4 separate regions of the Homo sapiens genome follow, and all the other regions are linked to region 1. Evidence: promoter capture Hi-C in human tissues and cell types (Jung and others, 2019). All regions are on one chromosome and are shown on one strand. The core of a region is centred on a gene start or on the middle of the fragment in contact, and the rest is flanking DNA. Distances in the headings are between cores, read along the strand shown.

Region 1 (6,857 bases), core at 1,511-4,010:
CATTCTTGTGCTTCTCTTTGAACCTATGCTTGGGGTGACTTCCCCCCTCAACACCCCAGTTAACATTGTGGTCCAAGCCTTTACTTCCCTGCTATGGGAAAACAAAAGGGGGAACATTTATCCTTTACACAGCAACACTCCCACCCACAGGCAACTCCCCTAGGAGATTTATAAACATTAAATTGTCTGTACATGGACAATGTAGAATGTGTGACTTAGCAATGTGTGACTTAGCGATTGCATATTTCATTCTAGGCATAGTGCTAATAACCCTTTACGAGAAATATATTTATTTAATACTTAAAATAACCCCATGAGATAGGCATTATGTTTTCTGTTCTACAGATAAGAAGAGGGCATTTGGGTGAAGTATATTGATATACACAAGGACACTTAGTTAGGTGAGGGAGTCAAGACTCAACAGGCTGAATCCAAAGTGAGAAGTCTTTTTTATTTTATTTTTATTTTTTTGACAGAGTCTCTCCCTGCTGCCCAGGCTGGAGTGCAGTGGCATAATCACGACTTACTACAACCTCAACCTCTTGGGCTCAAGGGATCCTCCTGCCTCAGGCTCCTAAGTAGCCGGGACTACAGGCATGTACCACCACACTTGGCTAATTTTTTGTACTTTTTGTAGAGACAGGGATTTTGTCATGTTGCCCGGGCAGGTCTCAAACTCCTGGGCTCAAGCTATCCACTTGCCTCTGCCTCCCAGTTACTGGGATTACAGGTGTGAGCCACTGCATCCAGCCAGAAACTGAGCAATCTTCACCCTAAGGTAACTCCATGAGGATTAATCCTTATTTTTGCACTCATGTTGCTTTATTGTTTTGAGAATCTTTCTCAAAAGGAAACTTCTTTACAGCTGTCCCCCAACTCCAATCTCCATTAGTGAAGTTAAGGGCCATGAGACAGTTGTGAACACTTGATCATACCATTGTTTAATCAAATTCCACAATCCTAACTGATCGTTAGATACAGCTATATTTTATTTAAGAATCCCAATATATAAAAATCCTAATTCCCAAAATAAGTGAATTATTAGGAAGTGGCCCTTTGGCAACAGATTTTCACTTTACAAAAGGACATTCCACAAAACCTTGTTAAAAATAGGGACTGTCAGGGAAAAAGGGTTGAAAAACTAACTCTTGGGTACTGTGCTCACTACCTGGGTGATGGGATCAATCATACCCCAACCCTCAGCATCATACAATATACCCACGTAACAAACCTACACATGTACCCCTTGAATCTAAAATAAAAATTGGAATTATTTTTAAAAATGTATTTCAAATTAGCTGGGCATGGTGGTGTGCACCTATAGTCCCAGGTACTGGGGAGGCTGAGGCAGGAGAATCCCTTGAATCCAGGAGGTGGAGGTTGCAGTGAGCCGAGATCGTGCCACTGCACTCCAGCCTGGGCGACAGAGCGAGACTCCGTCTCAAAAAAAAAAAAAAAAAAAATATATATATATATATATATATATATATATATATAAAAATAAATAAAATAAAAAATGTATTTGCGACTTTTCAATTTAACAGAAAATCATGTAGCCATGTTAACAGTACACTCACCATTTCTGTTCTATGTTCAGTTAAGTTCTTGCCTTTTGACTATGTTAAAAACATAAAATCTTATATGAGCAATCTAAAAAAATAGGTGCTGTCTCTAATGTGTTGAGGTTATTTGATATTTAAAAAATCATTACAATCAAGTCATCACATCTCTAGTGATAATTTTTGAACTTCAAATTATCATATAGCTAATCTAACAAGATTCATTTTGACTTATTTCATTTCTCTGAGAATTCATATAAAGGCACTTTAAAAATCACATTTAGTTATAATAAAACTTATACTGATGTAACTTTATATAAAATTTAATTTGATTGAAAATGATAAAATTCCATAAAATTAGGACTATTCAAGAATATCTGAGATCCATGGTTGACAGAGATGTATCCATTTGGAGAATTCCTGTACCATCGCAACAACCATCTCTCCTGAGAGTTTATTTTCACTCATCTGCCATTTAACCTGAACCCAGCAAACCTTACATCAGTGCAGGAAGGATGTGAATTTCCAGTTTAGTTTTACTCTGTTATATATATTCATTATCAAATATCAATAATCAGTGACAGTGAGAGTAAGTTAAAAACAAGTGTAATTAATATATTGTAATCTTCACATCTGCAGTCTACTCTGCTTTTTGCCCTACTATAGTATTTCTGAATTTTTTTTTTTTTTAGATAGAGGCTTGCTCCGTTGCCCAGGCTGGAGTGCAATGGCGCCATCTCGGCTCACTGCAACCTCCACCTCCTGGGCTTAAGCAGGTCTCCTGCCTCCCTCCCGAGGAGCTGGAACTACAGGCATGAGCCACCATGCCCAGCTAATTTTTTTTGTATTTGCATTAGAGACAGGGTTTCGCTATGTTGGCCAGGCAGTTCTCAAACCCCTGGCCTCAAGTGATCTGCCCGCCTCAGCCTCCCAAATTGCAGGGATTACGGGCGTGAGCCACCGCACCCAGTCACTATAGTATTTCTGGATGTAAGAGTAAAAATAGCCATCCAGCCTACCTGGCACGAGTGGAGAATGAATCCATGATGCAGAGATAATTGAAGAGAAGTGCAAAGGGAAATGCAGCCCCCTGGTAAAACGATATAGGATGGAGAAAGAACAGCCAAAGCCACTCCATTAGGAACCAGAACAAAAGAGCCTGTCTTTTCCAGTGTCCTTAACTGATGCCTTCCTCCAAGAGTAATCTCAACCAGGCTGTCTCTGGTCTTTTTATCTGGTTTAGCGGGGCTAGGGTGAGCAAAAGGCAAACAAAAGCTCTGGAGATAAGCAGAATAAAAACTGGCTTTCTGATTGAGGAACTGCACTATGGAAACCAAAACACATTTTGGTGTAACATTAATCATGACATGCACTAAAAACATTGCTTTTGGAAGCGTGGTTTTGTTTCATTGACATAGTATACTATTTACCTTTCCAGTCATCATGCTGTCGTATTTTCTTCACTAAGTTAATGAAAAATCTCATTTCCCAACTGTGGACAGACAACTCTGTGGACTGAAAAGGGGAAACAAGAATGTGACCAGGAGGAAGGGAAGCAGGTTCTTTTCTTTTTCTTTTTTTGAGATAGGGTCTGGCTCTGTCACCCAGGCTGGAGTGCAGTGGCACAACCTTGGCTCACTGCAACCTCTATCTCCCCAGCTCAAGTGATCCTCCCACCTCAGCCTCCTGAGAAGCTGGGGCTATAGGCATGTGCCACCATGCCCAGCTAATTTTTATATTTTTTTTATAGAGATGGGGTTTTGCCATGTTGGCCAGGCTGATCTCAAACTCCTGGTGTCAAGCGATCCTCCTGCCTCAGCCTCCCAAAGTGCTGAGATTATAGGCATAAGGAACTGCACCCAGCTGGAGGCAGGTTCTTAAGGCAAAAACCAAGATTCCCCTTCCTCACCACAACTCTCCTCCTTATGCTACTTTTTTTCGTATCAGTACCTCTTATGTATCTATTTCTCAATTCATTTTCCTGCCCCCTTTACAACATGAGCTCTACAAGGGAAAGACTTTGTTTTGTTGATTACTGTATCCGTAGCACATAGAACACTGCTGAATACATACTATATACCCAGTAAATATTTGTTTAAAAGATTTTGAGGAGGCTGGCTGTGGTGGCTCATGCCTGTAATCCTAGCACTTTGGGAAGGCGAGGTGGGTGGATCATCTGAGGTCAGCAGTTCAAGACTAGCCTGGCCAACATGTGAAACCCTGTCTCTATGAAAAATGCAAAAATTTAGCTGGGCATGGTGGTGGACACCTGTAATCCCAGCTACTCAGGAGGCTGAGGCAGGACAATCACTTGAACCCAGGGGGCAGAGGTTGCAGTGCGCTGAGATTATGCCGCTGCACTCCAGCCTGGGCAACAAGAGTGAAACTCCGTCTTGGAAAAAAAAAAAAAAGGTTTTGAGGATATCAAAGTGTAGAGGGGAAACATTTCAAGAGAATCTTTTCTTGACAAGTAATACAGAAGAGACTTCCTAGAGGCAAGACATCTCTTGGCTAGTAGCGATCCATCTCCTGAGCCCAGGGCATTCCAGGGCTGTCCCTGATCAGTTGTTTTCCCTCTCCAAAGTCACTTGCATGAGCAAGTTGTCAATAAAGGACAGGAAAATCTGACATGAGCATCTTCAGGGCAAGGACCATCTTTTAGTGAGAGACTGTATTCGTCCGTTTTCACACTGCTATAAAGAACTACCCGAGACCGGTAATTTATAAAGGACAGAGGTTTAATTGACTCACAGTTCTGCATGGCTGGAGAGGCCTCTGGAAACTTACAGTCATGGTGGAAGGCAAAGGAGAAGCAAGTACCTTCTTTACAAGGTGACAGGAAAGAGAAGTAAGAGCGCAGGAAGAAAACACCATTTATAAAACCACCAGATCTCATGAGAACTATCATGTGAGAATGATCACGAGAACAGCATGGGGAAACCGTTCCCATAATCCAGTCACTTCCCTTCCTCAATACATGGGGATTATAACTGGGGATGAGATTTGGGTGGGGACATAGACCCAAACATATCAGAGACTGCTCTGCACAGAGAAGAAAATCCAAAAGAATCTTATTGATTGGGGAACTTTGAGCAAGTCACATCACCTCTCTGGGACTAAGCTTCACCTTAAAACTAGACATAATTAGGCCTATCTCAACAGAACTGTTATGAAAATCAGATAAAGCATGTAAAAGCATGGCATATAAAGCTGGCTGGTTGAATGTAGCTGAAGGTAAAGTGATTGAATAATTAACATTATGAGCATTATTGGGCTACCACTTTATGACAGACTCTTTGCTAAGCACTAGGAATATGGGGATGAGTAAGACATGGTCCCTGCACTCATGTTGCTCTCAGTCTACTGGAGAGACAGAAATGGAAATAAATACCTTTCTTAATGAACTGTAGGTGCACAGGTGTATGGTAGGGGATAAAGAAAGAAACAATCACCTGCAGAAATAGGGAATCAAAAAGGATTTTGGAAGAGTGGAACTGCTTAAGTTGGCTCTCTGTGAAAGGATGTTTGCAAGCAGATGGGTGGCTTATTCTAGGCCACAGAAGGCACAAAGTCTTAGGCAACAATAAAACAGTTAATGGGAATGCCGAGAGTAGTTTGGTCATGGAGACCCTAACCCAGCAGCACTAGAGGAATTAAAGACACACACACAGAAATAAAGCGTATAGAGTGGGAAATCAGGGGTCTCACAGCCTTCAGAGCTGAGACCTGAGAGCCTCAAACAGAGATTTACCCACGTCTTTATTGACAGCAAGCCAGTGATAAGCATTGTTTCTATAGATTTTAGATTAACTAAAAGTATTCCTTATGGGAAATAAAGGGATGGGCCGAAATAAAAGGATGGGCTCTGGCTCGTTATCTGCAGCAGGAGCATGTCCTAAAGGCACAGATCGCTCATGCTATTGTTTGTGGTTTAAGAATGCCTTTAAGCAGTTTTCCGCCCTGGGTGGGCCAGGTGTTCTTTGCCCTCATTCCAGTAAAACCACAACCTTCCAGTGTGGGCATCATGGCCATCACGAACATGTCATAGTGCTACAGATATTTTGTTTATGGCCAGTTTATGGCCAGATTTTGGGGGCCTATTCCCAACATGTCCCCCTTCTTTGATTTACAAAACAATACAAGCAAAGGCAGCTTTGTCACAGTGAGCTACTTCTCACAGGAGTCAGGATATGCATCTGCAGACTACACAAAGACAAACAACACAGATTAAAAGCACAATCATCATTGAAATCACAGAGCATCCAAGTGTTTTTATCCATTTTAATGGGTTACTAGCTGCTAATCTGTCTGCAGCTCCTTCAAGCACTCCAGTTCCTGGCATTAATGTCAGGTGTGCCTGGGATGCTTTAAATATTTGTTCTTTTAATTTTGTGATATCCAAAGACAAGTTTGTACAGTGTCCTTCTAGATGCTTTTTTATTCTTTCCCAAATTTTGATCTTATTAAGAGCTATTAATTGTTTCCACAAATCCTTATGTTTAGCTCCTACAGTGGGACGTATCATTTGAGGTTGAGGTGCCACTATACCACCATGGTTCCAGATAATAGGAACTCTTGCCATACTTCTTACCGTTTCTACCATCTGACTGTTTTGTTCAGACCAGCTGAATATAGTGTGGCCATGGCATGCAGACTGAGAGGTGCAATTCAAGCTAAACATCCCCTTGGGGACGAATTAATAATGATTCCATAGGAATCGTTGCACAGCACCTCTGCCTGTTCTGCAATGCAATCTTCCCAAACAAGTACGTCCATTAATTCTGGCCAGGTCCAATTCTGTTTACAAATAGGTTTTTGAGGGTGGTATGCCTCAGTTATAGGAGCAGATTTATTATGGTAAATACTGAGGTCAGAAAGCATGTGTAACTGTGTCATAGACTGATTACATCCAGGCATTATTGCCAGCCAAGATTGATAAATATGCCCAATAAGTATAATTGTTCTTTGTGTCAGCCCTTGTTGAAGGAATACTTACGGCAATGGTGATCACCACATCATAGCTACCATTAAATTACTCATTGTGACTGGTTGTCCCGCTTTTCTCAAGTTTTCTTCTGCCATCTGTGACAGCTTCTTGATCTGTCCTCAGGTGGGTGGCTGTGTTTGATGGGTGTTGCTCGTGACAATTGGGGTCCTCCTCAGCATCACTCTCAACGTGGCTGTAATTGGGGGGTCCTCAGGATCCTCCCAGAATCTCTTCCTCAGCATCTAGTTCATGATAAGTTTTCAGGTGTCTTGATGGTATCCAAATCGGCTGTTGATTTGGTCCTGGAGAAA
Region 2 (6,857 bases), core at 2,476-4,975, 490 kb before region 1:
TCAATGACCCATTCTTTCCTTAAGTGCATTAATATTATTCTGATTCCAGTTCAGTCCAGGCTATTTGGAGATTTATTGGCGCTACTCTCAAGTTTAAGGGACAGCAATGTGTCTAAGGGTGGGGGATTCAAGTATAAGAGAGCTTGAGGCAGCAAAGGAGCCCAAGAGAATCTGGGATTTCTCCTACAGTCCGTTAGATTATGTTCTGGAGACAAACACTAATAAGTGACTCTATATTCCTTGACATGTGATTTTCTTGACATACTCATTTTCTGTTTGAACAATTTCTAATTTCGCTTTGAACAGAGCAGAAGCCATATTGCTAGAGAGCTGTCCGCCCCACCCCCTACTCTTGCAATCCCCACCAATCCCCATCTTCCTCACCACCAGCAAATTTCTCCTAGGGCCCTGCTGTAGCACACAGTGATGCCTTCTCTTCTTTCTGACCCATAGCTCACTTGGTTTGACCTTGCTTTGACCTTGCCACAACTTCTTCGGGCCTCAGTCTCCCATCTGCAGGAGGGGGTCTTAGACCTGACAGTCTCCAACATTTCTGCCAACTCTAGATTCTCAGAAAGATACTCTCAGGAAAAAGAACCCCAAATTAAGCAAATTGGCATTGACTTTTGTTTCTGTTCTTTCTCTTTATTCTGTAGCTGTCAAGTCTTTAGGTATTTGAAACCAAGTGCAATGGGTTCCCTGTGGGTTTAATTTCAGTTGCTCTCTGTGTATTTTTTATTATGCACTTACCGAGGGACCAGTCTCTGTAAGTGTCCCCGAGGCACAAGTGTCCTTTTAGTTCTCAGAAGCTTGGCAACCCACATAAAATCTTCTAATTAAAAATGTGCATTTCAAGAAAAATTTGAAGTCACACCCTCATACGGTGGAAGAAAGGAGCTCTGTTAAACTCTCCACGCACACAAGAATGAATCTCATTGTTAGAAAGAGATTTTCTACTCTACCAATCCTTGCTCCAGATTTCAGAATCCACCTCAGGCATTGAAGCTTCAGATTATCAGCCCCATGGGTCATAAATACTGACCTCCATTTACCATCTGTTAGCTCCATCACACAGAGACTCAATTCAGTACACATATCCTGAGAACCTACTACATGTCCGACCTAATGCTCAGAGTCACTGAGGACCCAAGGTAGTACTTTGCAAGGGCTCAGTACTTAGACTCTGAGTGAGTCAGCTGTGGTTTGGATCCAGGTTCTAGAGTGCATTTGCTCCATGACCTCTTGGATCCTCAGTGACTTCATCTGCAAAACAGATGCAACCTGCCAGGTGAGGTTGTTGTGATGTGTTCATGAGGTAATACATGCAAAGCATCAGCTCAATGTCTGATCCCTAGTAAGCCCTTAACAAATGATACCTATGATAATGATCAAAAAAGGGAAGATGACAGATTCATTTATTCAGCAGGCATTAACCAAGAGCCTTTTATGTTCCACACACAATGCTGGACAGTGAATATGCGTTGGTAAACAAAGCAGGCATAGTAGCTGTTCTCATGGAACTTGCAATCTCATAGGAGAAACAGTCTCTATAAAACAAACAAATCTATAAATATATAATGACAAGTTGTGGTAGGTGATATGAGGAAAATGAACTGATGCCTGAAAGTGCTTGGGAAGTTAGTGTGGGCAGAAGCATGTGGCCTTGGAAAAGAAGACAGAGGTTTCACCACAGCACAGGAAATACTCTTTTGAAAGGAGGTGGTCAGGGCAGTTTTTACAGGACAGAAGAAGGAGCCCAGGAGAAAGAAACACATTTATCAGAAGAAACTTAGTTTTGTTCCATTATTGGCTTATAATATTTTAAAGTTTGAGCATTTACCAAAAATGATCCAGCCCAAATCTTTTATTTTAAATATGGGTAAACTGAGGCATGGAGCATGAGTTGCCACCAGTCATATAGTTAGTTAATGAAAGAGCAGGCCTTAGAACTCTAGGGTTTTGGACTTCTGATTTATCTTCCTATCTCTTATTTCTTCTTAAATATATCAGAACATCCAGGGGTTTTTCTTTAAGGATGTTAGAAAGTAGTATCAAGGTGCCTTCCTCCCATCACTAATAATGGTCCTTTCTTGAAATTTCTGGGGGGAAAAAGCCATAGGGTAAAGATCCTATGAGAATCCTGCAAATGTTAAGCTATTTGAACTTGGGTAAGCTCCACCTTCATTCATCAGTGCTTTCCCATTTGAGTATTTGCTCTCTTTCGGCACTTGGGTTATGTTAGAATCATGTTCCCATCCAATTCCATAATAATCAGAGATCCAGAGCTTGGGGCTGGCTGTGCAGGCTTGAAGACCTTGCCTGCTGAGCCCTACCCTACACTGCACCCCACACAGGACCACTGCACTGACCTTTGGGGACAGGTCACCAACCCCGTGTCTGAAAAGGTTCTCACCATGAGGATGGGCATCTGCTACTTCCGTCGACACTCAGATATGACACAGAAGGACTTAGGATTCCAGCCATCCCTAAGTGGGCTGGGTGTCCCAGCTGGAAGCAACATGCACTTCGATGGGTTTAGGTTTAAACTGCAGCTTGACCACTTATTAGTAACTTCAGGCAAGTTACTGAATCTCTGAGAACTTCAGTTTCTGTAAATATAAAATAAGAATTTGGATCTAACTTTCAGGGTTGTTGGAAATGAAATAAATACCTAAGATCATACATGGCACATGGTATTCAACAAATTTCATTCTTATTTACTTAATAGACACATCCATGACACTCTGTAATAGGCTCTGTTCTAAAAGCTTAACAACCATTAACTTAAACCCCTTCTATTTTCCCCGTGAAGATGACTGCACTGACAGTGAGAGGGGTTTCATGGAGCAATGGGCTATATCAGAAGGTCTTTGGAAATAGAAACACCTTGTCTTCAATGAAAACCATTCACCCTGCCTCTCAAGCATGAAACTAGAAGTTTTTCTAGACTCCCAGTTAGTGGTTTACTTAGTTAGTTCAGATTATTACCCACATGGGTCATAAGTACCGAATATTGTGATGATTAATAATATGGATAATTTCAATGTCTAGCATCAACTCTTGATGTGTTTTCTTGACACCTCCCCCCACCTTTTTTTTAATAGCAGACATACACTGGGCCCATGCCTGTCACCCTAAGTTACTTATGCTTCCCAAAGGCTATGCTTCTCCTCTTTGCCCAAGCTGCCCTTAGTCATGAGTTTGCCTGGCAAAGTCTTCTAAGCCTCATCTCAATTGTCACTTTATCTTGGCCTGTGAGATCTTTCCTGACCTTCTGGCTTGCATAGATGACTCCCTCCTGGGGGGACCTCTATACCCTGCCGTGGTCCAGAGATACAATCCTCTATACCCTGCCCGTGGCCCAGAGATACAATCTCTTACAGAGGTTGTATCTTACTCTATGGTATCTCTAGCACCTGGTCCAGTGGCCCATAGTTAGGAAGAAAGAGTGAGAGGAAAGGAAGGAAGAAATGGAGGAAAGAAACGAAAAAAGGAAAAGAAAGAGGGAGGAAGAGAAGAAAGAGGAAGGAAGGAGGAAAGGAGGAAGACTTCATTGGTTAATCAGCCAATGATCACATCAAAGCAGCTTGTCACTGCTGGTCACTGTTACCCACCCTCACCGCTCTGCAAGGTAGAAAGTGGAGATATGGAGGTCCAAATGCCAGATGCAAAATGTTTGTCTAACTCGGCAATCAAACAGCCATGTTTCAGGTGTTCTAGAAGATAAATGCTCACCTCGAACATGAAACTGTGTCTTCTTTCACTGTCTTGAAAAATACACAAGACAAAACATTTCCAGAGCCGGAGGCAGGACAGGTGAGCTTTGGATATCAGGACCAAGGGCCGGTTTCACTAGCGCAGGTCACCCCAGCTCACTCTTTTCCTGAGAAGAGGTGGTGGAACAGTGGGGACAGGGTGATGGTCCCCAAGGGAAGAATGTACCAGGTGGGGCTTTCGTGCAGTGGAGGCCTCTGTACCCTGAGGCCCCAGCTCTTCTGCACCACTGCATCTACCCCGGATCCCGAAGTTGCCCTGCTTGGCATTCACCATCCCAACATGAAGCTGGAGTTGGAGCAGTCAATGGGGCATGGTGGGGATGCAGTGAGAGTATGAGTGGACTGACAGCAGGAAGCCTTCATTCATTCATTCATCCATCATCCATCCATTTACTCATCATCCATTCACTCTACATATGTTCCTTGATTGACTAATATATGTTGGAGATACATTGATGTAAAACAAAAGCCTTACTGATGAGGAGCTCCAAGTCCTGCCATCTCTGTGTGCCAAGTTCTCATCTATAAATGAGAAGCATGAATACTTTCGAGGGCATAGTTCTGCATGACGGCAATTCATAGTTAAATGAATTCTTCTCTCCATGAATTTAAAGCAAACCCACACAATTTTGCAGATTTGTTTGGGAGACTTGTAAACACACTGAAGGTCATTTCACGAATACCAGGTCAAAAATTCTTGGGCAAGAATGTGGTTCTCTGTCTTCCTACCCAAAATTCATTCCTTGATTCTATAGTACAGCTGCTCTAACAGAGACTCCTTTAAACATGGTATTTTCTAACATTAAACAAAGGTTTCAGTCTTTGACGGAGGCAGGCACAAGACAGCATCTTGTTTCAAAGCAACGCAAGGAAACCAACTGGTGGGGAAGAAAGTGGGTAGGAGGAATACGGAGTGCCCTGATCTGCCAGCTCACCACCTTCCACATCCACTCCCACACTCAGCCCTGCCTTGCTAAGGGGGATTCAAGAAGCCCTATGTCTGTAGCTTACCTGGCTTAACAGGGAGTTAGTCTGGCTGACCAGCCTTCTCTGACTTGCACAGCTCAGTTCCTAGTGCCTGGAGTCCTGCCTTGGGGATTCAGGTTTTGCTTCTCACTCTGGACTAACCTTCAGAGCACTGGGTGTTTTCCCACCCAGCCCTGTTTTGCCCCTCGTTTTGTCAGAGCTTCCATCAAGATCTCACACTTCAGAATTCTGCTAAAGGCACATACAGCCTGGCCTGAGCATTTCCTTAGGGTTTGGCTTCTCTGTTTCAGACCAACAGAAATTCCTACACCCCTAACAGCCAATAGCCAAGGCAGCAGGGCCCTAGCTATTTGAGAGTTTGGTCCCCACTATGCCCCCTGTCGGGAATGTCCCCTTCTGTCATGCCATCTCTAATCCATCCTGCATCGCCCCCCAGCCAGGATACTTGGGAGTCAAACAGGAGCTGAAGAGCTAGAACAGGGCTAGAGTGAGACACGTGAGGCATTTGGAGCCTGAAACTTAGAGACACTCATGCTTAGTGTTCATCCCCCTCTCTCACCTCCATTGATCCTCTCCTGGTGAGGAGACCTCCTCAACCTGGAATAGACTTATGCACTCTCTAGAGAAAAATATTTTTAATTTCTGTTTTTAATTACTGGAAGGGACCACATGGTTATATATAAGAAATCCTACTGCTTCGGGAGGAAAATTCATGGGGAAGAGGAAAGTATTTTGTATCAGGCACAGCAAGTGTTGTGGCTGCTGATTAACGTGATTAATCCCTTCATGAAAAACAGCATTTTTAACGTTGACATGAGTAATCACACCTTTTCTTTCCGTAGTAGTTTAGCATTTCCTGTTATAATAATTCAAGCCTAATGCCTCACTGAAGGAAGCAGAAGTGTCAGCGTGTTATTCATTTTCTCCACGTTGTCCCATTTGTTTCTTCATAAACTCTGGCGGAATCTGCCACCAGGCTGTCGGACCTTGGTGATTCAGGGTGGACGTCAACTGAAATTCTAAAAGGGCATTGCCTGGAATGACCGACGCACAAAGGATATTTCTCAAGTTGGTGACAACTCAATGACCCAGTGACTCGGTCATAAGTCTCTTGAGCTGTGGGGTCCTCTGCTCTTATATTTTCAAGGCTATTGTCTAGGGAAAGGCAGGGTGGAATAGAGGAAAAATCCTAAGACCAGGGCTCAGGTCTCTTGGGTCCTCATCCCAGCTCTGTGGTCTAATTTTGCCAAACTTCTTGACTTCCCTGGGCTTTAATTTCCTCATCTGTACAAAGAGAAGACTGGCTGAGAACAGAGGCAAAATGGTTGTCACGCTTTGGCAATCAAACAGCCGTACATGTTTCAGGTGTTAAGGAAGATAGATGCTCTAACACAAAATTCTGTCTTCTCTTACTCTCTTGAAAAACAAACAAGACAAAACATTCGCAGAGCTGGAGACAGGAAGAATGAGCTTGGAAGATCAGGACCACGTGCTGGTTTCACTACCTCTGGTCACCCCAGCTCATTCTTCTGCTGAAAAGAGGCAGGAGAACAGTGAGAACAGGGTGGTGGTCCCCAAGGGAAGAATGATCAATGGAGACAGTTTCATGATGCCATTCATGAAATTCATCAGAATTTCATGATGCCCCTTGGGGTGACTATCAGGGTTTTAAGTTATTCTTGAGAGTTTCTCGAACGCTTTTCTGTCTTTGTTTTCTAAAAGACTTTGATGATGGCAGTGGGAGCTCAGATTCATGTTGGAGTTACCATTCTGGTTTGCCAAGGTAGTGGAGGAATGTGGAAAGACGTCGCTGCACTTTAGTCCTGTACTTCTGACCTGTACTCAAAGGCCTTTCCCTTCCTACCCTGGGGCATCTCCCCACACAGGAGCTTCATGCCAGCTTCCCCTCTGCTGGGGTTGCCAACTCATGACTCCCTGGGGGAGGCCTCCGCACTAGCCTGCCAGCACCTTCTTCTTTCCTTGAAGGCTTGTGACTCATAGCTGCTGTGTAACGTGTGGCACCCCCAGACAGGAACACATCTTGCAAATTGCATCGGGGGCTGCTTCTCTGGTCTTCCTTCTGGATACCAGATT
Region 3 (6,857 bases), core at 2,390-4,889, 410 kb after region 1:
TCCTTAGGAGTCGCCCAGCAGCGAGACAGCTGTGGATCCCCTCCAGGCGCATGGGAGGCTCACAAGGCAAGGACTCTGATGGTTTTGGCTTCCACCTCCTGTACGGTGGCCAGTGCTGTGAGGGTGGTTGGTCCCACAGGGAAACCTGTGAACAGAGTCATGTCTGGGGCCCCAGGGACATGGCTTCAACCCCTCACCTGGCAGTCCTGCCTCCCAAAAGTAAGGCAGGAGTCCGGAGATTCCCATTGCTTGCTTCTGTGAATCTCAGGTCACTTTAGCACTTGACCCCTGACCCCAGACTGCCTTGTCCTTGAGGCCTGGGATTCCTAAGGTATATACTGTCTGCTCCAGAGCTGTGGCTGTGGCTATCCGGAAAACGACAGCTTTGAAGGACTGCAGAGCTTGCCTTTGGGGCTGTTCTGCCCAAGGCCTTCCATTGTTTTCAGACATAAATGAAATTGTTAATCCTCTGACATTTACCTTTTCCTCTCAACCTGCAGCTCTGTGAAGGTCAGACTGTGAGGAGAAGCCACCCCTTGAGCGCTCCGTCTCCTGATAGTGCCAGCCTGGCCTGGTTTCCTGTTTGGTGAGGCTTTCTAGGAGCACCTGGCTTAGCTCTCACAGGAGGAGGGGCGGACGGGGAGGCCAGGCCTCATGCTCACAGCGCCAGCCTCCTGTGAGAGTGGGCTGGGTCTCCTTTCCTTTCCCAGGCCCTTCCTGGAGGCGATTTCTTTCTTTCTTTCTTTCTTTCCTTTTCTTTTCTTTTCTTTTCTTCTCTCTCTCTCTCTCTCTCTCTCCCCTCTCTCCTCTCTCTCTCTCTCTCTCTCTTTTCTTTCTTTTCTTTCTTTTCTTTCTTCTTTTTTTTTTCTGAGGCAGAGTCTCGCTCTGTCGCCCAGGCTGGAGTGCAGTGGTGTGATCTCGGCTCACTGCAAGCTCCGCCTCCCGGGTTCATGCCATTCTCCTGCCTCAGCCTCCCAAGTAGCTGGGACTACAGGCGCCTGTCACCACGCCTGGCTCATTTTTTGTATTTTTAGTAGAGACGGGGTTTCACTGTGTTAGCCAGGATGGTCTCGATCTCATGACCTTATGATCTGCCCGCCTTGGCCTCCCAAAGTGCTGGGATTACAAGCGCCTGGGGGCGATTTCTATGCCTGCCTCCTGATGCAGGGCCTGTGCTCTGAGCTGCGCCTTTCAGGAGAGCTCTGCGGGGCTTCATTTCCTTTCTAAGCTCATGGCAAGAAATGTAGGGTGGAAAAGACAGGCTCTGGAACTCCCTGGCCACACAGGAGCTCTGCCATTTACACGCTGTGCGACCTCAATTGAGCAAGTTTCTTAACCTCTCTGGGCTTCAGGAAAAGGGCCAATAATCCTTCACATAAACACTTAAGAGAATGCCCGGCATATTAGAAGGGCTTCATGTTTGCTTTAAAGGTAGCCCTTCCCAAGGATCTTTTAAGGGGCACTTGAATTTTCAGTAAGGAGAAGGAAGCCCAGGACTAAGCCTAAGCTACCCACAAGGCCGTGACAGTTAAGACACAGGATGGCCAGCACATGTGGATGACACTAACAGGGGCTGCTAGAGACCTCACGGCTGGAGCCAAATGGAAGACTGGAAAGCATGAATGAATGACGGGAGTAAGATGAGGCATTGCAGTGAGAGCACCACCCACAGCACCGATTGACAGCACCTGCCCTGCTCCTGGCAGTGTGATCTTCACAGCTTACGCCAGCACTGGGAGAGCTTATCCAAAAGAGGGGCCTCCCCAAACCAGGCTGGACACGGCCACCGGAACCCCCTTCTGACAGGAAATACATCCGGGGTGGAGGGGGCTGGGCAGCTGAATCCCAGCGACGGAATGGCCCTTGCCCTCACGAGTTACTTTACACAAACCCGCTGTCCCTGACCTTTCCAGCTGCAGCCTTATCTCACTTTCCTATCGGAGAAACTGGAGAAAGAATCACAGGTCACCCAGCCCATTCCTCCCTGGACTTTCTGGCACTTTCTTCCCACAGTCCTTCTGCTAGTATTCTCCTCAGCCTCATTTCCAGGCAATGGAGTTACAGCTTGTACTTGGGGATATTGCTCTCTTCACAGTTCTGCCAGGAAACCCGAGAATCTGCCCCCGGCCAGGCAGATGCTCTCTCCCTGGTGACCCTCTCCACCTCTTCCGTCATTTGCAGTGAGAGAGACATCAGCATTTTGTCCTTCACCCTCTTTAGAAGCAGTCCTCCAAAACCATCCGTCCAGGGTGTTAGGGAGACGTGTTCTTTTGTCCAGAACTGCTGCTGCTACTGAGGCCCAGGCCTCTCCATGTTGGGCAGTTTTAGGAGGAAATGCCGTTCAGAAACCAGAGTCGGTCCCCTAGTGTATGGCTGTGTGGCTTTGGCCAGGGTCACTCACCCCAAGGAGACTTCCGTAGAAATCACAGTATTATTCAGGATTGCCAGAACATCTCAACGTGGGCCTCCTCCTGACTGGGGGCACCATTACTCTCCATTACTCCATTACTCTCCATTTGGTACACTGTTTTCCAGGTTTCTAAGTGTGTTCCATGTTGTCCTTTGCGGAAGGTTAAACTCCCCAGATCCTACGCGCCTTCTCCCCTGTCCTTAATAGTAGTAAGAGCCCAACCCTGAGTCCCAACAAGTCGCACCTGGAAGTGCCGTCTGCGCTCGGCTCTTCCCTGGGATTAACAACCGCGTGGCCCAACTGTCACAGTCGGGTGCTGCTGAGCGCCTGGCACCTAACTGGGACTCAGTTTTTTAAATCAAACAAACCTGATTTTAATGACAGTTTCTACCCACTCTGCTAAATTTGGGATCCTAGGCAAGTTGGTTTTTAACTGCACGGAGCCTCAGTTTCCTCATCTATAAATGGGAAGAATGAACATCTCCATGGGTTTATTTTGCAGAAAACAGTAAGATGTTTGGCTTAAAGTCATAGTTATGATTAAAATAGTTCTTCCAATGCCTTCCCTTTGTCAGGATTCGATCTGGTGTGGCCCAGAGGCTCCTGAGCCCTCCCTGTAAGCTTGAGAAGCACTTAGGACACAGGGACTCCTGACCAGCACCCTGATAAGAGAAACCTAAGGGCCTGGGCTTTTTGCTTTGGTAAAGAAGAGAAACACCAGAGCCAGGGTGAGAATGGTCCGTGGCTGTGGCGTATACCGAGAGGAGGCCGTCTGGTTGGGTCAGCTGGGTGTGTACCCAAGGTTTTTTTCTTCTGTAGGCATAGGCACCCAGATGCCGTCCGGAAAGTATGTGAACTCTAACTGCTTTGGAAACAAAACCAAGGCCACAGAGAAACTTTGGAATTATAAAATGTAGCCTTCATAAAAGGGGAGAGTGAACTTTTCTGTGAAGAAAACCAATTGTGACAGTAGGGGTAAAGGAAAATCAACTCCAAATGGAATCATGTTTTATTCAGGATTTGTGCTGCCGGTGGGGAAGGCCAGACCCAGCGACAGGATGGGAAAGTGGGACACCCCAACTTCAAGCTTTGTGCGTTCTGCCACGAAGTTCTATGCGCTTCACTGAGCTCAGCTCCTGGGGACCTCTAATGGCCCTTGATAGCAAACATAGTTAAAAATTAACAGACTGACAGAATTAAATATGGATGACAAGCAACCACTGTGGACTTAATCTGACACAGGGTGTTACATGCTTGGGTGCTTTTAACCCAAGTGGCATCTCAAGTGAACTTCTGAGATGTCTGGGCACATTTCACATGCCTGTTTGGAAGCAGGGCTTAGCTTGTGCTTAGGACAGACAGGAAAAGAGTCTAAGAGCCCAGGAGAGAAAATTCTCCCTGGAGGCTTTTGTTTCATTAAACCCAGCTTTGATCAGGCTTACCAGGATGTACTCACAGTCCTAGGACCTTGTCCTTGTGGTCTAGACCTTGTCCCTGCCTGGGCTCGGACCTCAGTAGCACCTGCCATCGTGACTGGAAGATCCGGCAAGAGCACAAGGCCAGCGGGGAGCATGGCCTCCTCCAGCTAGGACTTTCTTGCTCACCTCTTTTCCAGCTGTTGGGGCAGGTGAGATGGCAGCCTTAACCAAGGACCAAGTCATACAAATCTTGACATTCTGCCTAGATCATAGCGACTTAATTGCCCTAGGCAAGGACTATTAGGTGCCAGACAGGTAGTGAAGAATGCTGATGGCGTTTTCATGCCTGAGTCTGCTGAGAAAGAGTATAGGCTGCCGATTCTGGGGGGCAGGGAGAAGAGGAGTGGTTCCTTTACAAGAGGGCCTCATTTCATGCAGCAGCGAAATTCCCAAAAAGTGTTCTTCCAGTTTTGGTGAGTGCTTTTTTAGAAATGGAGGTGAGGGTTGCTGTTTAAAAGAATCTTGCAATCAGCGCTGTAAGGAAGACAATCTTTTTGTATTGCACATCATCCCTCCAGCCTATTCGATGAGTTTGGAGTTTCTTGGACCAGATTATGCTGGGCTTGGCAGCCTCTCTTCAGCCTGGCAGTCTCTGACAGAGCTTGCTGTAATGGCCTAACGTGCTTTATTTGGTGATGCCACCCAAAAGTGGATCCTGAGGTCTGGAGCGAGTAGGGCAGAGCTGATGGTAGGTAGTCACTGTGTGAGTGGTTCCCTGCAGTTGCTCAGTGTTGGGAACGAGCCCCACAGCGAACTTCAGCGCTCCATTCTAGGGAGAGTCATGGAAACCTGCCTGAGAATATCCATGCCTTCAAAACATTAACCCATTAGTTTGAGATAACATTCTTGTCATTTACATAAAACAACTTGTTCAAGCTACTGTGGGTTTTGTTTTGTTTTGTCTTTTGTTGAGGAAGTCTCCCTCTGTCACCAGGCTGGCATGCAGTGGCGCCATCTCAGCTCACTGCAACCTCCACCTCCCAGGTTCACGCAATCCTCCTGCCTCAGCCTCCTGAGTAGCTGGGACTACAGGCGCACACCACCACACCCAGCTAATTTTTTGTATTTTTAGTAGAGATGGGGTTTCACCATAATAGCCAGGATGGTCTCTATCTCTTGACCTCATGATCCACCCGCCTCAGCCTCCCGAAGTGCTGGGATTACAGGCATGAGCCACGGCGCCCTGCCCAAGCTACTGTTATTAACTATTTTGTTCAAAGAGGGATAGCTGACTTCTGAATGTGGTGCAGGGGAAACCTGCATTCAGGTACAGCATCTGCACTAGGGAAGGTGAGAGAAAATCTGTAGCTGCTCCATGTACATGAGACATCAGAGCACTAGCCGGTTTGGTGGTCTGTCTTCCAGCTCGAAGCATGCAAATGGCACAGCCCAGCCTCTTAGATCCACCAAATGCTACCACTGGAAGGGACCTTCCAGACCAGCATTTCTCAACACCCACAGGGATTCACAGCTGTTCCATAATCCAGAGATCCTGCAGTCAGATAAACTTGGGCAGCACAGGTCTAGATCAAGTCAAACAGGTTTCTTTATTTTGGAACTTCTTGGAGCCATTACTGTGCCCACACATATCAAGAAACTGCTGAAGGGACCAAATTGTGCATTTCTCTCTAATGTCCTTGACATTAGAGCATTTCTAGACCAGTGTTCTTCCAGCCATACTTTTCGAAACCTTAATTAAAAGCAGCATCTCTCAGACTTGACCATGTGCCTGGTGATCACCTGGGGGGCTGGTTACAGTGTCGTTTATTGGATGCCTCTCCCAGAGTTTTGGCATTTCTGACAAGTTCCCAGGTGATGCCGTTGGTCCAGGAACCTGAGAACCACTGGTCTAGGCTTACCCCTTCATTCCCCAGAGAAGAAAACAGTCCAACCAGAGAGTATTTGCTTTCAGTAGTGACTATTAATTGAGCCAGTCACCTGCTAAGCACTTTTCGTGACTCTTTCTAAGGGCAAGTATGATAGTGGGATTCAGCCCCTAGAAAGGGGATAGCGCAATGCAAATCATTACTGTAGAGTTTTACCCTGTGCCAGTCACTCACCACTGCAGAAGGGTTGGTACTTCAGGCAGGGCGTCCTCCCGAGACTAGTCAAGGTCTTCCTGTCCTTGGCATCAGTATTAGGAACATAAATTCTGTCTGTATTTAATCCTCTGGGCCTTCATTTTTCATCTATAAATGGAAGAGGATGGAAATTATTTTTATGGGTGGGTACCGCTTTCTCTAGCATTCCATTTGATTTTTACTCTGAGTTGCTTCTTTTTCTGGGTATCTTGGTGCTCTCCTGTTGTCCAATCTGTCACCATGCTGAGTGCTGGAGACTTACAGTGTTAGCCATGCAGGGGCACTGCATTTTCAGAGCATTCCTGAAGAAGAGGGATGGTAGAATCCCAAACAGTGTGGCCCTGGGTAGTGAACTGTAACATGGTAATAACTTACCACTATTGTTAAGTTCTAGTGGAGAAGATTCCCAGGGTCGTCCACGTTGCCTTAGATGTCACAGGCTGTGTGAAGTGCTTAGCGCGGTCTCTGACGCAGACTAAATGTCAGGGTCAGTTTGGTTAAGTATATTGTGTTAAAGTTTCTCACAGGGTCTTGAGAAGCCCCTGGAATTGTGTGCAAGACTGTGAGTGTGCACATTTGAGAGAGAGAACTATGGGAGAAGAGAGAGAGGGTGTGTGTTTGTGTACACATACGTTTTCTGCACATGGCATGAAGAAATGTGAGGGGCCGCTGCCTTGCATGGAAGGCCAGCCCTTGTCACATTATTCTAATGGGGAGCCCTAAACTAGCCTGCTGAACTGTTTGGAGAGGACCTTGACGCAGGCAGTCTGGAGGGAACTGTAGGTTTCCCCGTTAAGAAGAATTGTAAAGCAGCCCTTATGGGATGGGCAGGAGTGACCTGGGGCCAAAAGCCCAGCAGAACAAGCAGCCCGAATGGGGCTAAGAGAG
Region 4 (6,857 bases), core at 2,980-5,479, 330 kb before region 1:
CAAGCATCTGAGACAGTCATAAGTTTGGGGAGGGAACCTGAAGACGAGCACATGTGCCACCTTATCCATCCATCTAGCACGGTAGTTTTGTCCCAAAAGAGCCTGGGCATTCTACTGCCATCCCCTCTCCCCTTCCCTGAATGCCACCATCTAGGTAAACCCAGGGAAGTGTTTTGTTCTTAAGCCTATCCTCTGAGGAAGTAGGGACACGTTTGTGTGACCTGAAATCAATAGGGCCCATGGTGACCCTGTTTCCACCCAACTGTGGAAGCCCCCTGCCACATTAAGAAATGGAGTGAGCTAGAAATCACAGAAAGATCTAGGAAGCTAAAGACCATGAATACACTTTCAAAGCTTGTTTGAGCATTTCTTTTTTTCTTTTTCAGTATTTGAAGGATGAGGCTTATAAACTACTGAAATAAAATGTCATTGTCTAAGATACAGCAATTGACATATGTAAGTCAGCATATACAAATGAAATAGATCACTATGAATACTACTTTAAATGCTTTGCTTTTTAGGCCACATGGGGTTTTCAGGGGTGTGTTGAGGCAGACTCTAACCTCTGTCTCTAACCTCTGCAAGACGTGGGAACCCTTTCTGGAGCTGTCTCAACTGTGGTGTCTTCAGTCAGGAAGTGGGGATGACATCACCACATCTTAAATGTGGGCAGATTAAATAAGATGATGGGTATGAAGCCTAGCACATCACAGGTGCTCAATGCATGTTGGTTCTCTCCTCCTTACCTCCTTTCTCCTCCAAATCATAGACTTGATGTGTCGGCATCAGCACAGCCCTAGAACAATGAAAAAAATACAAAGAACAACAAGAACCTATTCAGTGTTTTTCACCTTGAATGATGTGAGTGGAAGACAAGGGAGACTGACATGTTAGTGAGAGAAATAAGATGGATGGACACTAAATGACGCCTGTTTGGACTGACAGTAGCCCATTCACACATTTCTCCAAAAAGGACTGATTATATTAGATGTGCAGCTCTTCTATCCCCTTTTCAAAAGAAAAAAAAAGAAAGGCTTAACAATTCTAGAGAGAGGCTATCAAAATCTGCCTTTACTGCTTATTTTCATGATCTCATGCATATTCCTCATCGTCCAGTATTATTTTATACAGATATAAATGTCTGGCTCCAACTATCAAAACAAGCCTGCTACCACTTGGGGGTTAAAACATGCAGGCTCTGGGCTCTCTGCAGAAAGGACTTTTTAAAAATTGTCAGATGCTTCCGTGAGGCAGGGCTGTGCGTGCCTGTGTGGTCTGAGCAGGCTGGCAATAGGAGGGCTCCCCTTCACAGAAACCCCCAGAGCGCAATCTTGGGGGACACATCGGGAGGCAGCCAGGCATGGGGATTTTCCAGCCTGCCTTCCCCGCCCTGCCTGTGACAACTCAGCTCATGCATCAGGCAGCGAATCCCATTCACGAAGCTGTCAGTGACTGCTGAATTCATTGAGAGACTCGGAACCCATCTCGCCGAGGTTCAACTGTGGGTTAATCCCAGCTAACCTAAATCATTGTTCCCTGAACACAAAGGAATGTGGAATTCTGTGCTGGGGCTGTGTGTCAGCACGGCTTCCTTGCTAGGTAGAAATATATTCAGCCTCAAGCGAGAGAGAATATATGAATATGTGAGTAGCTGGGCAGCTACGCTTCTCCCTCCAGCCAGAGGCTTCCATTTACTGCCGCCCCCAGGGCATCCAGAGGCATGGTTTGGACCACAAAATCCTGTTCTGTAAACAAATGAATCTCACAAGGGTCAGTTTTATTTTTTTCATGCTCCACTTCCAAAATCTACAACTGTAGGATGTTTGCTGTCTTCCCCTTCTACCATAAAGACAGCCACCAGTAGGGGAGGGTATGTGTAGGGGAGACATTGCTGTTTTGGGGCCATCCATTTAGAAAGCATTTGAGGTTACAGTGTCCCTTCATGAGGCACAACTCTGCAAGGACCAGTTCCATAGCATAGTGAGATTAATATGCATATTAGAATCTGTACATAATCTTCACACGCAGTAATTGCAGTCATAGGCTCTAGACATAAAGAAACATGCATTTTATAATAGTACTGGATCAATAAAAAAAACCCAGGAGTTAACATTTAGCTCACAAATTGAAGAAAATATTAAATTCATTGAGAAATAGGCAAACCATAAGGCTGTAAAATGGTCCATTATAGTCAGAAAACTCATCTGCATTGTGAGAGCGCTGAGTACAAGACCTCACCATAAATCTACAAAAGAAAGGCTACTCTTCCAGACTCAGAAGGAGAGAAGGGAACAAAAATCACATTAGCAATGTATATTGCTCCCAGATTACAAAATTAGGGTTTATAGGGAAAAATTCAGCCTGCAGTAATGGTCAGTAAAAATGACCGGTTTTATAGAACCGGAACTTGTAAAGATAAAGGAGAAAAGGCAGCAGGAAAAACATTAAAAAGACTCCCACAGAAACCTGTCCAGAAATAGAAATTCAGAGGACTTCCTGCCCTTTAATAAAATAAGCTCAATTGAGATGAAGCAGAATTATGGATGAAGCAAGGCAAATTATTTGATCAAACTAAGAAATTTTTTTTTAATAGTCATTCAGGAAAGAGCAAAAACCACTACAGTTATCTACCATGGATAGAGGTTGTTCAGAGCTGGTAAAGTAATTAAATCTGTCACCAGTCACCAGGCACGGTGGCTCATGTCTGTAATGCCAGCATTTTAGGAGGCTGAGGTGGGCAGATCACCCGAGGTCAGGAGTTTGAGACCAGCCTCGCCAGCATGGTGAAACTCCACCTCTACGAAAATACAAAAATTAGCTGAGCTTATTGGTGCATGCCTATAGTCCCAGCTACTCTGGAGGCTGAGGCATAAGAATCATTTGAACCCAGGAGGCGAAAGTTACAGTTTCGCCTTGATTGTATCAGCCTGGGCGATAGAGCGAGACTCCATCTCAACAAACAAACAAACAAACAAACAAAAACTGTTGCCAGAAGCTCACCAACTTGCATGCTGTGGCTTGTACCAATGGGTAGGTGCAGCTATGTAGCTAAGCTACACTTCAAGACTTCAACTGCAAATGTATGATAATAAATGGATTAAGCCAATAAAGTTTTATAAGTGCAAACCTAAGAATATATTCTTTAATGGCTGCTATGAAATATGCTGGAATAGGGCCAGAATATTAACACACATTCTGGCCAACACTTCAGACGTTTGGTTATTTAAGAGAAGTAATAGAGGCAGGGAGTTCCCCATCCGAGCTGTCTTCACTGCATTCACACCCACAGTCGTGAATGAAGGATCACTGTGAACCCAGCATTGCATCTAATGCTCCAGACACAAAGGTGGGAAGTTTCTTAAGATGCTCACAGTTAACTAGCACAAAAAAAAATTTTTTTTCAATCAATGCATGATGTGTAATAGGAGGCTGTGAGGGAAAGCAGGCTTGGGAATGACTTCTGTAAGAGGCTGGAAATCCTCTTTGCATCAAAGATAGCCATGTAGCCAAGCTATGGCCCTTAAGACAAAGTCAGAAATTTAGTTTTGTTTTAGGGGGTCTGGGATTGGGGGCTTCTTTGAAAGTTTTTTGTGATTTAAAAGGAATGACTTAACTGCTGCAAAACCCCCCCGCAGTCACTCTTTTTTTTTTTTTTCTATCTTTTCTCTTTTTGGCTTACGTAGAGATGTGAGCAGGCACCATAGCAGCTGTCTTGCAACCATGAGTAAAAGGCTAAGGAAATTGCAGAAATAACCCTGGCACCAGTATGTCTGCATTCTAATGTCACAGTAACCCCGACTGCTAAGCCAACACCAGTACCTGCCACCTACTGATGTCTTGTTATAGACAAGAAAAAAATCTACCCAGGTGTGTTTAGACCACAGTGGTTGGTGCAGCCAAATGCATTCCTAACTGACACATTTTCTAAGGAGTCTATCTCATGCTGTAACTCCACTAGTCAAATGTTGACACTGGTGCCTTATTGCTGATGAAGTCCAAACTTGTTTGCCTTTATTGTTAGTCTGACTTCTCCCTTCCTTTCAGCATTACCACCCCTGTTCCCAACATGAGACTCTCCAGTGGAGCCAGGATGGCCTCTTCCCTCTTGTTCCAGCTAGCAAATTAAATTTTCCTGCTGGAAACTCCTGTAGCCCTTGAAGAGTTGCACAATGATACACTTCTCTGTTTCCACCTGGTCCCCAGTGCTGAGCACTTTCTGAGGGCCAGAACTAGAGCACATGTTTACTTTTCCATGTCTCCCATGATAACTGGCATGCTACTGAGCACATCTGGGGAGACAGTAACAGAATGTCTGGCAGAAGCAAAGCTTAGCTAGATCTGCTCCAACCCCCTCCTTTTGATTGGACGGCCAAGACCCAAAAAGGTGAAGGGAACTCACTCAGGGTTACACAATGGAGTATTAATAGGCCCAGAATCACAACCCCAGGCTGCTGTCTCTTCGATGAGCATATTTTCCACTATACCTCACTGTCTAAAAGAAAAGTGCCAATTAGAGGCACACAAAGTAACAAAGCTGGTGATGACTATAATGGATGATTACGTCTTTTCAGAGGGCATGAAAAAGAGAGCTGAGTAGAGGCTGATGTGAAGGAGCTTCTTCAGTGTATAATTAACTGTTGGCTTCTTTGTATTGTTCCAGTAATGAACTCAGCAATGAGCTGCAGAACACCCTTGCCTGAAGGGGCAAGAATAGCAATGCCAGTCTTGTCGGAAGACTGCTTATGGGCTGGGGTCTTTGGCGAGCTCTGAGTCACTGGGTCCATTTCCCATTCACATGCATTTACGATGGAGCCTGACATGTACCTCAATGCCTCTCCTCTTTCTAACAGGCTGGGAACTGTGCTGTAAGCTGTTTTGTTGTTTGTTTTGAGACAGAGTTTTGCTCTTGTTTTCCAGGCTGGAGTGCAACGGCGCCATCTCAGTTCACTGCAACCTCTGCCTCCCAGGGTTCAAGTGATTCTCCTGCCTCAGCCTCCAAAGTAGCTGGGATTACAGGCGCCCGCCACCACACCCAGATAATTTTTTGTATTTGTAGTAGAGATGGGGTTTCACCACGGTGGCCAGGCTGGTCTCGAACTCCTGACCTCAGGTGATCCACCCACCTCACCCTTCCAAAGTGCTGGGATTATAGGCGTGAGCCACCATGACAGGCCCGCTCTGAGCTGTTTTGAGAAATGAAGCTTCAGAGATTATGAAAGACTGTGATCCCCAGAATGACTTGACTGGAGGCCCCTGAGAAGATGGAAGTTGTTGATTCACAGTCATAAAATCTTAGATTTTGGAGCCAGATGAAACCCTGGAGATGACCTAGTCCAATCTCTTTATTTTAAGATGGAAAAACTGAAGCCCAGAGACAGAAAGTGACTAGCCTGCAGTCACACAGCCAGGAGTGACAGAACTGTCAGATGCTGTGTTCCTCTGCTGCTTCCTGGATACACACACTGCTGGACACACCTCCCAGGCCTTGGCTCTCTGACGCCAGAGTGTCAAATGTCTTCCAGAGCCCCCTGAAGTGTCATGCTGCTTACTGGAAAGATACGTGGATTGCTACCTAACAAGAAATGAGGCAAAGCCATTTTTTTCCTCCCCAGCTAATCAATAACTGGACACAGGGGCCTCCCTTTCTTGAAACATGATCTAAAATACAACATAGGGTGAGTGAGGGATTTGGCAAGACTGCCAGTCCCTTTTGTTTAAACACAGAAGCCAGACAGATCAATGGATAGGGTGAACTACGTTGTATGATGTCGTTTGTCTTAATATCCAATATGAGGCTTTAAAACTAAGTTTGCAGAATCACAAAGAATAAGAACTAAAAGAGAAGAGGAAGCCAAGGAGCAGAGTCTGTCCAGAGTCAGATATCTCAACAGTGACAGAATCAGTATTAATAGTGAACGAAAACTCTGGGCAAGATAACACACCAAGTTATTAAAAGGCCACGGAGCATTTATAAAAGGCACGTATCAATAGAAATGTTGAATTACAAATTCAAACCCCTGTGACCTGCCTGGTGTTCCAGCTCAGTGGTTTTCCGATATCTATGCCAGAGCCACTGAGGCTGCACCTCAAATCAAGGCTGGCTGAGGTCACAAATCAGTGCAGGTGTCCAGAACTCCCGGCTTGGCAAGGGAAGCTCCTAAGATCACCATCCTGAAATTCTTAATTTTATCTTGGAATTCCTATTTCTGACGGGAAAGTGAAGAATGCACTAGGATGTGGGAGCCTTGTTTCACACTCAGGCCCCACCACCACAATCTCCCTGTTCCCTGGGAAGGGTTCTTCACTGCCTCCCGGTCCTGGTGCCCTGCCCTTGCCCCACCTCCCCCACCCCACCCCACAAGGGATCCTGCCCACTGCCTGGGGCATCAGTGAGCTCACTTAGGCTGGGGATGGGGCGGGGTGCAAGCTGTCATTCTCTCATCACTCTCTGCCTCCAGTGAGAACCTGTGCACAGACAAGGATGCTGGAAGGTTCAGGGGTGTCTCAGGGCAGGGCATGGTGGTCGCTGTCCCCATCCCTGGCTGGCAGCTGTCCTCATCTCCGGCTGGCAGTACCATGGCTGTTCAGTACACATCCAGGCAGGTGTGAGCCTCTGCCTACCCAACCCAGGTCCCAACCACTTCTCAGTGTTGAGATTGCGATCCCTTGAGAGTCTCCAGTCCTCTGTGAGTTAGGGCTGACTCCCATAACCTGGCTGGGCAGAGAACATCAATCTGGGGGCTGACAGAGAATGTCCTGTCCTGGAAGCTAGTGGGTAACACTGCAAAGTCACAAATAGGGGTCCCCAGGCACTTGTGAGAGTCCATACTGACCCTTGCAAATATCCCCATGCCTGA

Evidence for each region. Contacts are between HindIII fragments. The study calls those that stand out against the background at their distance.
Region 2: a fragment that was not itself captured here is called in contact with the fragment with the promoter of MBOAT4 in region 1 in 1 of the 25 tissues and cell types used here (hippocampus).
Region 3: a contact is called between a fragment that was not itself captured here and the fragment with the promoter of MBOAT4 in region 1, in 1 of the 25 tissues and cell types used here (aorta).
Region 4: a contact is called between a fragment that was not itself captured here and the fragment with the promoter of MBOAT4 in region 1, in 1 of the 25 tissues and cell types used here (heart right ventricle).

What each region holds. Positions count from the first base shown.
Region 1 is chr8:30,141,905-30,148,761 of GRCh38, forward strand. MBOAT4 (membrane bound ghrelin O-acyltransferase MBOAT4) reads right to left here and starts at 2,761. Exons shown (of 3, transcript NM_001100916.2): 1 at 2,579-2,761. The coding sequence starts at 2,697. The HindIII fragment of the contact is 8,892 bases long and covers 1-6,703 here.
Region 2 is chr8:29,648,919-29,655,775 of GRCh38, forward strand. No RefSeq gene overlaps it. Among named protein-coding and RNA genes, the nearest start is that of LINC02948, 90 kb to the left of the region's middle. The HindIII fragment of the contact is 7,238 bases long and covers 107-6,857 here.
Region 3 is chr8:30,549,000-30,555,856 of GRCh38, forward strand. All of the region lies in intron 6 of RBPMS (RNA binding protein, mRNA processing factor), which reads left to right. Among named protein-coding and RNA genes, the nearest start is that of SMIM18, 86 kb to the right of the region's middle. RefSeq lists enhancers at 209-868, 1,693-1,987. The HindIII fragment of the contact is 4,833 bases long and covers 1,224-6,056 here.
Region 4 is chr8:29,805,959-29,812,815 of GRCh38, forward strand. No RefSeq gene overlaps it. Among named protein-coding and RNA genes, the nearest start is that of LINC02099, 61 kb to the left of the region's middle. The HindIII fragment of the contact is 3,779 bases long and covers 2,341-6,119 here.